3 separate regions of the Homo sapiens genome follow, and all the other regions are linked to region 3. The links are contacts of gene promoters, found by promoter capture Hi-C in blood cells and fetal thymus (Javierre and others, 2016). All regions are on one chromosome and are shown on one strand. Each heading gives the region's core, a stretch centred on a gene start or on the middle of the fragment in contact. The rest is flanking DNA. Distances are from core to core; before and after follow the strand shown.

The links. Contacts are between HindIII fragments. The CHiCAGO score rates a contact against its expected background, and 5 or more counts as called.
Region 1: a fragment that was not itself captured here is called in contact with the fragment with the promoter of OR4K5 in region 3 in 1 of 17 cell types (M1 macrophages); the score reaches 5.8 in M1 macrophages.
Region 2: a fragment that was not itself captured here is called in contact with the fragment with the promoter of OR4K5 in region 3 in 1 of 17 cell types (neutrophils); the score reaches 5.2 in neutrophils.

Annotation. Positions count from the first base shown.
Region 1 is chr14:20,292,884-20,297,795 of GRCh38, reverse strand. It overlaps TTC5 (tetratricopeptide repeat domain 5), which reads left to right. Exons shown (of 10, transcript NM_138376.3): 6 at 1,350-1,406; 7 at 1,942-2,088; 8 at 2,270-2,484. Among named protein-coding and RNA genes, the nearest start is that of TTC5, 11 kb to the left of the region's middle. RefSeq lists an enhancer at 1,541-2,740. The HindIII fragment of the contact is 523 bases long and covers 3,331-3,853 here.
Region 2 is chr14:20,200,800-20,205,365 of GRCh38, reverse strand. It overlaps OR11G2 (olfactory receptor family 11 subfamily G member 2), which reads right to left. Exons shown (of 2, transcript NM_001386033.1): 2 at 4,291-4,566. Among named protein-coding and RNA genes, the nearest start is that of OR11G2, 12 kb to the right of the region's middle. The HindIII fragment of the contact is 5,403 bases long and covers 1-4,566 here.
Region 3 is chr14:19,918,570-19,923,173 of GRCh38, reverse strand. OR4K5 (olfactory receptor family 4 subfamily K member 5) reads right to left here and starts at 2,567. Exons shown (of 1, transcript NM_001005483.1): 1 at 1,596-2,567. The coding sequence starts at 2,567. The coding sequence ends at 1,596. The region is part of intron 2 of LOC124903278 (a long non-coding RNA gene); the gene reads left to right. It also overlaps a transcript of OR4K1 not described here. The HindIII fragment of the contact is 8,373 bases long and covers 1,019-4,604 here.

The DNA of each region.
Region 1 (4,912 bases), core at 2,343-4,842, 370 kb before region 3:
CTTTTTAATCTTTTTTTTTTTTTGAGACGGAGTCTCATTCTGCCACCCAGGCTGGAGTGCAGTGGCACGATCTCGGCTCACTGCAACCTCCGTGTCCCAGGTTCAAGTGAGTCTCCTGCCTCAGTCTCTCAAGTAGCTGGTATTACAGGCACGTGCCACACCATGCCCGCCTAATTTTTGTATTTTTAGTAGAGGCGGGGTTTCACCATGTTGGCCAGGCTGGTCTTGAACTCTTGACCTCAGGTGATCCATCCGCCTCGGTCTCCCAAAGTGTTGGGATTACAAGTGTGAGCCACCGTGCCTGGTCATCTCTTTTTAATCTGAAGTTTTTCGCCCAGACCTGCATTTGTAAACATATCTGAACCAACCATTTAAACAATTTTAATTCATGTTGTTTGTGCTTTTACAATGCGCCAGGTAATGAAGAGAATTAAAAAAATATAATAAGCATAGTCATGAACATAGCCAGCAGTTGCTTCACAGCACATGGTCTGCACTGTCTTGTGGTGTCTGGCCATCTATTTTATCTGTTTAAAAAAAATTCTTTTCCTGGCCATCTATTTTAGTTAGAGTCTGAATTTGGTTTTCTATCTGTGTTTTAAGGGAACTTGGATGTAGAAACATGATTCCGCATGTGTCTGGAGCTAGGTTTATGGGCAGAGGAAATGCATTAAATGAACACCATTTCTATCCTAGCCTTTCTTCATTTATTACCAGCACTTCACTATTTAAATTTTTAAAAATCAAAATGATTTCACCTATTTCATTCATTTATTTATTTTTTTTGAGATGAAGTCTCACTCTGTCACCCAGGCTCGAGTGCAGTGGTGCAATCTCGGCTCACTGCAACCTCCACCTCCCATGTTAAAACAATTCTACCTCAGCCTCCTGAGTAGCTGGAATTACAGGTGCATGCCACCATGCCTAGCTAAGTTTTGTATTTTTAGTAGAGACAGTGTTTCACCAGGTTGGCCAGTCTGGTCTTGAGCTCCTGACCTCAGGTGATCTGCCAGCCTTGGCTTTCCAAAGTGCTGGGATTACAGGTGTGAGCCACTGTGCCCGGCCCACATATTTCATTTATATAAAGATTTATTCTATCTTAATACTACTACATGGATAAATTATAATAATATTTTGAAGTCTCACACATACAAAAACACTTATATCCCTAAGGTTTTGGGACTAAGATATCCACACTGTTATACGGTAACTGCTTCTGTGGTATAAATACCATTTTGGCAAGGAAGAAACTTCCATTTCTCTAGAAAGAGGAGGCGTAGGACATGTTGGGCATGTCAGTCCTTAACATTGAGACAGGATCCACTGATAATCTTTTCATCCCATTATAGGAGAAAGTTGACAGAAAAGCTTCTAGCAATCCTGACCTTCATCTGAACAGGGCGACGGTAAGACCTTTGGGGTGTAGTCATCTGAGGGTCAAATAAATAAGACACCTATGTCTTAGCTTGTGAGGATAACTGAGTTTGCATAGGGACAAGATTGGGTACAGACTGCGAGAGGAAAGCCATGCTATTTCTATAAATAGCTAGCTCGGTTTGGCTTCAGTATCTGGTGTAGTCACTGGAGGGAAAGGAGAAGGGGCTGTGGAGGTGGAAGAATAGGTAGAGAATGGGGGGATCTTTTAGAAGACTTCTGAAATGTTAAGTAAATATAAAGGTCAAGTGAGCCAATATATACAACTTAACTATTTTAGAGTTTGGAAATTAGCTTCTTTGAAATGATTCCATCTTTGGGGTTGTGATCATCTTGGCTAGGAAGAAGGATGTAAGGTGTTACCAGCTCTTCAGGCTGTTTGTTGCAGCACAGGAAAATAACCAGGAAGGAAAACAGTTTATTTCTCTAGATTCCTAGCCCATGGTGCCATTCCCTCGGGATAGTTTGTCTGGATATACTTATAATTGGGATACACTTCTTGTACAGTTGCATAAATATGAAGAGAGTTATGGGGAGGCCCTGGAGGGCTTCTCTCGGGCTGCAGCCCTGGACCCTGCCTGGCCAGAGCCCCGGCAACGAGAGCAACAACTTCTGGAATTCCTGGATAGATTAACCAGCCTCCTTGAGAGTAAGGTAAAAATGTCTGAAGGGCTGAATTCCACTTTTTTTTTTTTTATTTTGTCGTGGGTCAATAAAATAAGAATAAATAGGTTTACGAGGTAGAGACCCTATAGAAGTGGGTGGGAGGGAAGGATTAGAATCTCAAGGAAGGCGACTAGTTTCCAGCTTCTTACCTATTTCCCCTTCTTTGCAGGGAAAGGTGAAGACCAAAAAGCTGCAGAGCATGCTGGGAAGCTTGCGCCCAGCCCATCTAGGCCCTTGCAGTGATGGGCACTATCAGTCAGCCTCTGGGCAGAAAGTGACCCTGGAGCTCAAGCCACTGAGTACGCTTCAGCCTGGGGTGAACAGCGGTGCCGTCATCCTGGGAAAGGTGGTATTTAGCCTCACCACAGAGGAGAAAGTCCCCTTGTGAGTTTCTCTTGGATTTCCCCCATTTTACCCTTTTGAACTAATTGCTCTCACTTCCTGTTCTTTCCCTGGCAGTTGAGGAGATTGTCAGTGGTCACAGATTTGTGACTTCTGATTTCCTTCTGTGACTATCCCGTGGGCAGATATTGTCTGGGTGATGTTTAACCATCTTTTGATCAGAGGCTTTTGTAGATTCTGTCACTGCCCATTTTGTATCCCTGAGTTTGGTGCTATGTGGATTCCTATATCCATAGTTGAAATTTGGCAGGACATATTTTTTTATAAGACAGAAACCTCAAAATTCTTCTGTCCCTTTGCATTTTCATGATCATAGAAGTTGAAGGAGGACAAATTTCTTAGTCCTGTTTGTACTTAGGTATACTTAGTTCTGAAAAGTGAGCTTTGAGTTATAATTTAAAGTCTGGTTGGGAGATTGTCTTAGATGTCATTCAACAAATATTTATTGAGTGTGTAATATATGTGTCATAGGGAGTGAGAAAAAAGAAATGTAAAGGACCCAGGTGCAGGTGCTTCTAGCAGCAGAGGAAATGAATTAAGAATATTTGTTTAGAAAATTTTTGGATCTTGAAAAGTTACGGTTTAGTGAATGCCACCACTCCTTGGTCCTTCACTCACTTCCTAATCCCTGGTTGACCGGTTTCCCCTTTCTCTTTTCTACTGAAATTGTTATTTTCCTAGGATCACCATTGTCTTTCTAGGCACTGGATCCAGCAACTTCTATTGCATGGTTCCAAAACATTCTGACTTATCTCTCACTATTGCTTTTCACATCCTTTCTGTTCATCTAAACAGAAATATTCACAATTCCCATTATATGCCCAAGCTTTCTCCATGGCATTTTCTAGGGGTTTGTATATTTGACGAGTTGAAGGGCAAAAAGATAGTTGAGAACAGTTTAGTTTACTAGAGCAAATCCTAGAGCTGAGAAGAATTAGAAAGGGATATAGACAAAGGTAGGTTTTGGAGGACCTTGAGAACAAATAGATATTTTGCCACTCCTTGGTTTCTCTTTTTCTGCCTAACTTTTAAATCTTAGGTTCCCAGGACTCTATTTTTGTTTTTTTCCTTTTTTCTCTTTATATCAGGATGGCCTATAGTTGCCAACTTTGATCACTTGTCAGTGGTTGCCTGACATACTGTGTAGAAGGATTCTGAGGCTTTGACTGGATTCATCAGGAGAGTGCTTTGCTTGATTGCAATATTTCCTGTGAATTCAGGCATGTCACGTGATGGCATGAGTGTGATTCTTCTCCATCCTGTCTATAGATCATCTTGCCCTGTGATGTCATATAAACCCAAGGCTTTGGCAGCCTCCTATATGCTTACAGATATATCTCCAGCCCAAGCTTCATTTCCAAGTGTTGGATTCCTATAACCATCTGCTTCTGGGTTCCAATAAGAAATCTCTAACTCAGTATTTCAGTATTACTCACCTAAATCTTTCTCTGTAAACCTGCTTCTCCTCCCTGGATTCCTTGTGAATGAATGGTATCACCTCTCAGTCACTTGATTAAGACTTTTGGAAGAATAGGCTTCTCCATTCTCCAAAAAGATTTGCCTTTTTTGTCCTATAGACTTGACTTCTCTGTGTTTACCACCTTAATTCACCCCCTTATCACTTCTCCAGATAGGTCTCCCTGATTCTCTGGTTTCCTCCAGTGTTCCACAGTGCTGCCAGAGAAATGTTTCTTAGATGGAAATCTGACCATTGCTACTTCTTATTTAAGATCCCTTACTGGTACTATATGTAGCTTTTGGGATAAAGTGTGAACTACTTAGGTTAGCATACAAAGTCCTTCATGATTTGCTCCCTGCTTCTCTTTCTATTATCTTTTGTCTCTTTCCCACCAGTGCCTTTTGTTTCAACCATGGAACAATTTTGTTGGTTTTAGAACAGCTGTTTTCATGCCTCTGTGTCTTACATACAGTTACTCTGCCTGGATAATCTCTAGCTTCTTCTTGACATAGCTAACATCCTCTTCTGCCCCCAACATTTTGTATAAAAATTTTCAAACATATAGCTAAGTTGAAAGAGTTTTACATTGAACATTTGTGTTCTCATCCACTTATATTCTACCATTAATATTTTATTTTACTTAGCTTATTACATATCAGTCTGTTTATCCTGCTATCAGAGTAAATTGCAGAGATCAATATACTTTACATACTTTAGCATGCAGTCATTAACTGAGTTCAGTATTTGTTTCAATTTTTTCTTTTTATGTAAAATTTACATACAATGAAATGTACAATTTTAAGCGTACATTTCATAGCTTTTAACAAATGGAAAATATCTGTATAACCCAAATAGAGATCATTACCACCATTCTGGGAAGTTCCCTGATGTTGCCTCCAAGTCAAAATCTCTGTTCCTATCCCCTCAGAGGTTTTTAACATTTTTACCGAG
Region 2 (4,566 bases), core at 1,417-3,916, 280 kb before region 3:
TTATAGGCGTGAGCCACTGCACCCGTCCAATGAATTTAAGTGAACCTGAATGACTAGATTAAAAAGTCATATGTCATTCAAATATGAATATTTCATGTTCATATTATCTCATAGTGAAGCTATGGGCAGCTCCTTTTAGTTGGTCAGATTCATTTTTTCGACCTTCTTGTATATTCTGGCACTTAGAAACATACAGGTCGGTCTAACATAAAGAAGACATAAAAACACAGTAGTATTAATAATTCAAAAGGCAGAAGATAAAGTATTAAAGGAAGGGCATTACATTTCCTGGGATGTGCATAAAAGTAATGGGAATAAGTTATATTTAATCAGAGGCATTGTAGAAAGTGAGTTATTAAGCATGACTTCTAATACCAAATTATGTAATTTATCAAATTTCCAAATAATGAGGCATTCCTTTGCAAATAATTAGGCAAGAACGTTTAAGGAAGTGTTCAGCTGAGGAGGATCTGGGTAGCTGGGCACAGATGTCAACAGTTCATTACAACACTTATACTGGAGATGCGGTGCATGAAATCACACGTCTAGAAACTCACAAAATTTTGCAAAAATATGTTCATATTATAAAGGCATTTCACTGGAGCTAGCATCCATGTGTAGATGTCTTAGAAGAAGTCAAGTGAATCCTAGACAGGGGAAAAAGTTACTTACCCTTCATGATAGAGTCCTAGGAATACAAACCGAGCCTGTGCCTTCTCATTGATACATCTCTTTGCCTTATGTGGACTCAAAACCTGGAGCCTGACCCAGAGAATCCTAGGATATATAAAGGTAACTGTTGAAACTCCCTTTTCTCCTTTCCTGAAGTGCTCAAAAGGAACACTTACAGGTAATTCTTTGGGTAACAGTTATAGCCAGAGGAAAGAAGCACACTCCTCCTATGGTCAGCCCTTGAGGTTTAGGCCTCGACTGACAGGGTGGTTATTTTCATCAAGGGCTACATAAAGGACCTCAGTCACCTCCGGGCACCCAGACCTTCCAATTGTCTCATCCAGCAGAGAAAGGTCAACAGGTGAGTTTTATATATGAATTACTTTTGTGGCAGAATAGTGCCACAAAAGCAGTGGCATATGAACCTCATGAAGAGATTTCAGAAAGAGGGTGCAGGTGAATGAAGAAATGTGTCACTGTGATTCAGGGGTGCAATTAAAGTTTTGTCTTGGAGATTATTGTGATGACTTCAGTCTTCCCTTGGGCTGGTTTATGACTCCCTCAAGAGTCCTTGGCATAGCATCCTTTCTTCCATCCACAGTTTTCATGTAGTTTAGGGCAAATTGGACCCCAGAGCAAAGGCAAGAAGAATGTTTTGAAAGGCAATGATGAGACGTCTGTGTGGAATTCGAGATAACTTCTTTTTGTTCATAGGAAAAGTTATAAAAACTAATTTCTAGAAAATCAGTTGTAATGTCCTCATTTAATTTCTAATTTTTGTTGAGTCTTCTTTTTTTCTTAATCTAGCTAAAGTCTTGTCCACTTAGTTTATCTTTTTGAATAACAAACTTTTGGTTTTGTTCATTTTCTCTACAGTTTTATATTTTCACTTCATTTATCCCTGCTGTAATCTTCATTATTTCCTACCATTTGCTAGCTTTGAATTTAGTTTGTTCTTCTTTTTCTAGTTTCTTATGGCATAAAGTTAGGTTTTTGAGTTGAGATTTTTCTTCTTTTATAATGTAAGCCTTTATAGCTATAAATTTCTCTCTTAGTGCTGCTTTCTTTTCATCTTGTAAATTTTGGTATGTTGTGTTTTCATTTTTATTTGTCTCAAGATACTTTATAATTTCCCTTGTGACTTCTCTGACTCATCGCTTGGTTTAGATTGTGTTGTTGAATATCCACATATTTGTGGATATTTCTTTTTGCTGTTGATTTACGGTTTTATTCCATTGTGATTTGAGAAAGATAGGTACGATTTTAATCTTTCAAAATGATTAAGGCTGTTTTGTGACTTAACATTTCATGTAGGCTGGAGGATTAAAATATTTTACTTAAAAATTTTGAGTTGTGTCCATTCATAAAATGAAACAAAGGAAAAAGAGGATGGCAAAGTCTTTAATAGAAAGCCTACAGCCTGGGCAACATAGAGAGACCCAATTTCTAAAAAAAAAAAAAAAAAAATTAGCCAGGCATGGTGGCATGTGCCTGTGGTCCCAGCTACTTGAGAGGCTAAGGTGGGAGGATTGCTTGAGCCCAAGAGGTTGAGGCTGCAATTAGCTGTGATCATACCACTGTATTCCAGCATGGGTGACAGGGTGAGATACTATCTAAAAAAACCCCCAAACTGCAAACAACAACAACAAAAAGAAAGCCTAACACCTTTGAACTAAAAAAAAAAAAAAAAAAAAAAGATGAAGAGATTGCTAGTGTAATGGGGAAATTGAAGAAAATTCAAACGAGAGCTAAACCATGGCCACAAACTTCCAGGGATGAGTGATTCCCTTCTGAGTGGCATCAGGTCTAGCTCTGGTTCATCCTTACCTGAGGATGAAGACCATTAGAGCACCAGCTTTTTGTGACCACCCCCTCCCCACCAGCACCAGGTTCCTATTTCTATCTCCTCAGCCAGGAATTGTCCTGAAGCATAAGGATATGAACTACAGTCAAGTGCTCTCTGAGCATGAATGGCCTTAGTGCTCACCTCTCAGGCTTTCATAAAAAAATGACTTAGCCATTTTCTATTCTCTCTTCAGATTGTCAATGTTTTTAAGTTTTTTTTTAAATTTAGTATTTTTATTTGATCACAGCAAGATGGTAGATCGAAGCAATTCAACATTCTATTACTAAAATCTATATTTACTTAACATTTTAAATAATATCTCTCTTTTGTATTCAATTTATATTATTACTATTATTATTGTTATTTTTTGAGATGAAGTTTCACTCTTGTTGCCCAGGCTGGAGCACAATGGCATGATCTCAGATCACTGGAAGCTCCACCTCCCGGGTTCAAGGGATTCTCCCGCCTCAGCTTCCCAAGTAGCTGGGATTACAGGCATACGTCACCACACCCGGCTATTTTTTTTTTTGTATTTTTAGTAGAGACAGGGTTTCACCATGTTGGCCAGGCTAGTCTCGAACTCCTGATCTCAGGTGATCCACCCACCTCGGCCTCCCAAAGTGCTCGGATTATAGGCATAGCCACCACGCCCAGCCTATATTATATTTTATGGTCATACTTGCTTTGTCTCTGGGACCTTAGTAGTAACCACTAGCAGTGGTTGATTATACGATGGTGTAAAATAATTTCTAGAAGCACTTCTATTCTGTAACCTGAGGTGCACTTGCAAAAAGACAATGCCTGTGCTGTGCTTACAACCTCTTTCACACAAGTTCCATACTTACATACATGCAGCTTCTCGTGAGCTTCCACTGTAATTAGGCCTTCCCCTCTCACTGAACTTTTGCTACTTAACAAAAAGAAAACCTTCCAATTTTCTCGATCACAAGACTGTGAATCCTATGAGGGAAGAAAATGTGTCTTATATACCTTTGTCTCAAATTTATTTCCTGGCTCAATGTTTGGTACATTGCAGGTGCCGAACAAGGGCAATAAAAATCAGTAATTGAAAAATAAGGGAGATGATGTCTAAATATAACTGTGATAAAACTCGTTAAAGTTTTATAACAGTATATTTACACAAGCCCTAAGATGAGGAAGCTGTATCTCAGGTTTTTTCTAAAGTACGAAACTATCTGAGTGAAATTATGTTAAGGGGCTCTGAAGACCTCGCTTCAACATTTCTATCAATAAACAGGCTCCTAAGGAACCCTAGAATTGCGGGAAAAAATGATTTTCCAAATCTAATGATCAGAAAGTTCTCCTAGAAAATTGTTCTTTGTTGGCCGGGTGCAGTGGCTCACGCCTGTAATCCCAGCACTTTGGGAGGCCGAGGTGGGTGGATCACCTGAGGTCAGAAGTTCGAGACCAGCCTGGCCAACATGGTGAATCTCCATCTCTACTAAAAATACCAAAAATTAGCCAGGCGTAGTGGCGGGCACCTGTAATCCCAGCTACTCAGGAGGCTGAGACAGGAGAATCATTTGAACGTGGGAGGTGGAGGTTGCAGTGAGCCGAGATGGCGCCATTGCACTCCAGCCTGGGCAACAGGAGCTAAACTCCATCTCAAAAAAAAAAAAAAAAAAAAAAAATTGAAAATTGTTCTTTGTTTAAAGAACTTACTCATATAACCAAACATCACCTGTTCCCCAATAACCTATGGAAATAAAAAAATTTTACAAAATATGTTTTATTATTTTTTCAATGCATAATATAGGCACATGATAAAGAATTTGAACGCACAAAAGGAGTTATGAAAAAAAAGTCTCCTTTACTATCTTGTTCCTTAGACACAAAATTCTTCTTGCCTGAAGCAACCATTGTTATCAGTTTTTTGGAGCTCTTTCAGGAGATATACACATTTCCATGGAAGGCAGCTACAATACACTCTGCTATTCACTTTGCTTTTTTCATTTAACAGTGTGTCTTGGACATATTATATATCATTGCATATGGAACTGCTTCATAGTTTATAAATTGAAGACATA
Region 3 (4,604 bases), core at 1,318-3,817:
TAATGAACAATTAAATAAATGACACCAAGTCTGATTTCTACATATTTACAAATATATAAAAATAGATGCCTAGCTCCCAAAATGTACAAAATGAGTTACAAAGCGATGAAATTCTTAAGTATAAAAAGCAATATATGTTTTAATTTACAGAAGAAAATCTAAATAATGTCTTTATGATCTTGACAGAGAGAAGGATTTCTTAAATCAGACACATACACACAAAAAAAGATACCAAAAATGATTCACAAATCCAACCACATTAAATTTTCTAAAAATTATTACAAAGGCCATTTGAACAGCTGATAAATTTTACAACACTCTTGAAATGAAAAAATAAAATAGAGTGATGGGGAACAGATCATTGGTTGCCAGGGTTAAGATCACAGGGGAGACAGCACAGGAAAGTTTCTTTGAAGTGACGGAAGAGGTCTATGTCCTTATTGTGGCTGTTGTGACTACATGAATCTATTTATGCAATGATATTTCATAATACTATAAAGCAATAGTAAAAAAAAAAAGAGTACATGTAAAAACTGATTAAATCTGAATCTGAATCGTCTTCAGTTTACTTTGAAAAAAAAAAATACCATAGGCCTAAAGGAGAGAAACCAAAGAAGAAATAAATGTGGAAGGGTGATGCCCTGCCCAAGGTTGAGTTTCAGAACTCTTTGGAGAGAATATGAGTGAGGCCCCCTAGATGGAGAGAGGTTCTCTGGGTTGCACTGGACCAGATCTAGTCCACAGAAGGTGAAGTGAAGATGGGGATCAGAGAATTTAAGGCCAAGGCTGGCAATAAAACTTGCTGGAGGATGAGTACCACTGGGTGCCTGAACATAAGCCACTGGCAGCTGCACTGTAGGAACAAGAAGAGAAGTGGCACAAACGAAAATCTTGGTGTTGAAATAGTTCAGCTTTCTAGATTCTCCTCTCTTTTCTGCAACTCATAATCTAAAAGGAAATTGGAATTATCTAGCCAATCAGAGGCAGCCCTTTAAATGAAAGGTTTAAAATGGAAGCTTCTGAGTATGTATCATTCCATATTTTAAAGCATTTTAGCTATTTGAAAACCGTATGGGATAGGCATAATTGATTTTTGGGGGGGGGAGTCTCATAACCTAATAATCTCCACTTGAACTTAAGCAGTTATATTAAATTGTAGTTTGGCTATTCCCTGAAGTTGGCAAAATTCAGTTTCAGATTCTTAAATACTATTCATCCACATAGAAGTTTTAGGCATGTTGTTAAGAAAACTCTTAAAACCTGACAAATGTTTGAATGTATGCCCACCAGAGAATTAGGTTCTCATTGATTTTTTTCTTGATATTTACATTTACCCCGTAACAAAAGCAGTAAATGCATACATATTATCCATCTAGTGCCCATATTTTATTTCTAGAACCAGTAATCTAAACAGAGATTTTTCCATGTTTTTATATTTAACTTTCACTTGATACCTAGAAAAAGACTTGTTAATATTCATTAAATGTTCTCTATATTATCTTCTTCACTACTTTCCCCACAATTGAGATACACCACAAAAATACATTAAAATATTAAACAGTGTATTGACCTGAGGAATTTGAAGGAGTTTTGTCTTAATGAAAGGAAGTTCTCACTACTAGTGACATTTCAGAAATTCTCCTTGGCCTCAGGTAATGGTTCACAATTTTCCTTACGGCAGCCTTCATATCCCTATTCCTTAGTGTATAAATAATGGGGTTTAGGACGGGGGTGAAAACAGTGTAAAATATGGCAAGAAATTTATCCAAAGGAGAGATGGTAAAGGGCCACACATAGATGAAGATGCAAGGTCCAAAGAATAATATTACTACTGCAATATGGGAAGCCAGCGTAGAAAATGCCTTTGCCATTGCAGCTGAAGACTTGAGCCAAACTGTAACAAGAATAATGATGTAGGAGCTGACCAAGAGAGAGAAAGTGCTTAGGGAAAGAATTCCACTATTGACCACAATTAGTATTTCAATGATGTAAGAGTCCAGGCAGGCAAGTTTGGTGACTCGAGGAAGATCACAAAAAAAGCTGTCTACTACATTAGGTCCACAAAAAGGCAGGTTCACAGTAAATGATAACTGGCTTAATGTGTGCACCAAGCTCACAGCCCAGGAGATCATTACCAAGACAGTGCATGTCCTTCGGCTCATGATGACCACATAGTATAAGGGTTTGCATATGGCTACATACCTGTCATAGGCCATCGAAACAAGTAGCACCATCTCCCCTCCAGTAAAAAGGTGAATAAAGAAAATTTGGGCTATGCAGCCACTGAAAGATATGGTCTCGTGTGCACTCAGAAAATCTGCAATCATTTTAGGGGTAGCAAAAGAAGCCTGACAAATGTCAACAAAGGAAAGGTTTCCCAAGAGAAAGTACATAGGGGAGTGCAGGCTGGTATCAGAAGTCACTGTGAGGATAATGAGAAGATTTCCCAGCACAATGACTGTATACAACACAGAGAAGAAACAAAAATAGAAAAGCTGGAGTTTTTGAGAACTACAGAGTCCCAACAGTACAAATTCAGACACCACTGAAGAATTGGACTTATCCATGGTTCCAAGCTGCAAACTTGTTCTGAAACAACTCTAAAGGAGGATAAATAGAAAGGAATCAGAATTTGAATTAAGAATACTTTTAAGGTGAGGGATTCTGAGATCTCAGATATAATGTGCATTTGCTGAATGCAAAAATTTTGAAGAGGCCATAATAGTATGTCTGGATAGGTGGATAATAGGAAAGAACTTATGTAAATGTCTAAATAATGCTTAATAATTTAATCAGTATAATTAGAACCCCTTGAGTTTTTGGATAGTCCTTGTCTTTTATACAGTAGGAAATGAGCTTACCCAGGAGCTGACTCATGACAACAAGACTAGAGGAGTGACCTAGAGTCCAGCTCCACAAGCCTCATAGGTTGACAAAAAGTGTTTACATTTGCTTGTCTTGTGGTCATCTTACATCATCAATTATACAACATTCTTAACTTTTGAAGAGATATTCATGGCTTGATTATTATTACATGATGTAAAGTCACACAGATTAACTTTTGGCCAATTATTTTATCTGAGCTTTAATTCCACACCTTAAAAAAGATGGGAGGTATAAAAATACCTACTTTACAGAAAACTTTAGAGTTTAAGCAGAATAACTCATGACATTCTACCATCAAAGTAATTGTATTGCAACATATGATCTTAATACATTAAACACCCTATATTAATAGAAATTTACCTTCGTGCTCCTGCAGGAGTCATTTACAATTAGGCAATTCCTGCTAAACAGATACTATTGAATGTATATTATACTGGCCTATAGTTCCAACTGAGTTTGTCAATTAGTTATCCAATAATTTCTTAAAACACATATTATGGCTTACCTGAATTATCTAAATCCTATTTTCTGTTGATTATCCAAGAGTGGAACCTAAATTTTTCATTTTCTTTGCCTATCAGAATTAGATTTCAGCCCACTTACATTCTCCCTGCTAGAGTTCTCCATGATCTTCTTAAAACATCTTTATAATTAATGCTGGAAAATGAAGTTTAAAAAAAATTTCTGGATAGAGAAGTAAAAATGATTATAAACCTCTCATGCTCTTGAAAATATCTAAAAATTTGCATCGTATGTTTTTCACCCTGTAAAGACATACCCCTACTGTATAAATCTAGTTCAGTTGAACTGGAAAAACTTTAAAGAAGTGCTGTTTTAGGAAACCATATTAGTTCTGACAATTAACTGTTGACAACAGTCATAGTAAGAGGCCTGAGAGAGTAATGATCTAATTCTAGTCCCATGTGAGAACATGAACATCTTTTTCTGCTAATTTATTTCATACAAGAAGCCAGAGTCTTTCCTTTGTCTCTAGGCTACAGACCTAGTCTCTCATTTAGATGAATGCAGTTGCAATCCACACCGGGAAGCCCCACAGTAAACAATCATATTGTGTACTCTATTGGAAGAAGGTTCAGAGAAGCATTCCACTGGGCCACATTTTGGATATACATTATTGTAAACTCTGGAACTACGGCAAACAAAAAGATGACTCATTATAATTGTTTAAAGCATTAGTAACAACAAATCAGTGTCTATAATATACAAGAAGGCAATAACTAAGAGGATTCTGAAATATGATGTAATCACTTTATGCCATGTGTGACTCATTTTGTTCCCCCATTTCTAAAATAAAAGTGTCCTTGCTCAAGTTCATGTATTTATTACATAAAATGATTAACTCTACCTAACGAAAATGTTTATTGTATGAATGTAATGTATTAAGCTAAAAATTGAGGCAGATTTAAATATAGTGAATGATGAATCATAATTTTAAAATTTACAAATGAAGGGCAAAGAGAGCTTGCATTTGTTCAGACGCTGCTAGATAGCATCTACTGTGTATACATGTTTTATCAGGTGATCTTTACAACAGACCTTTGGAAAAGGGGTTACTAAACTGCAGAAGAGAAAAACAAAGATTAGACATGTTTACTAATCTGTGGTCAGACATCTAGTAAGGGTCAGAACATCTCAGTGGGGATTTGAAATCAGATAATAAAAATAATATTTAACATTTACTAAGCATCAAAGTGTTA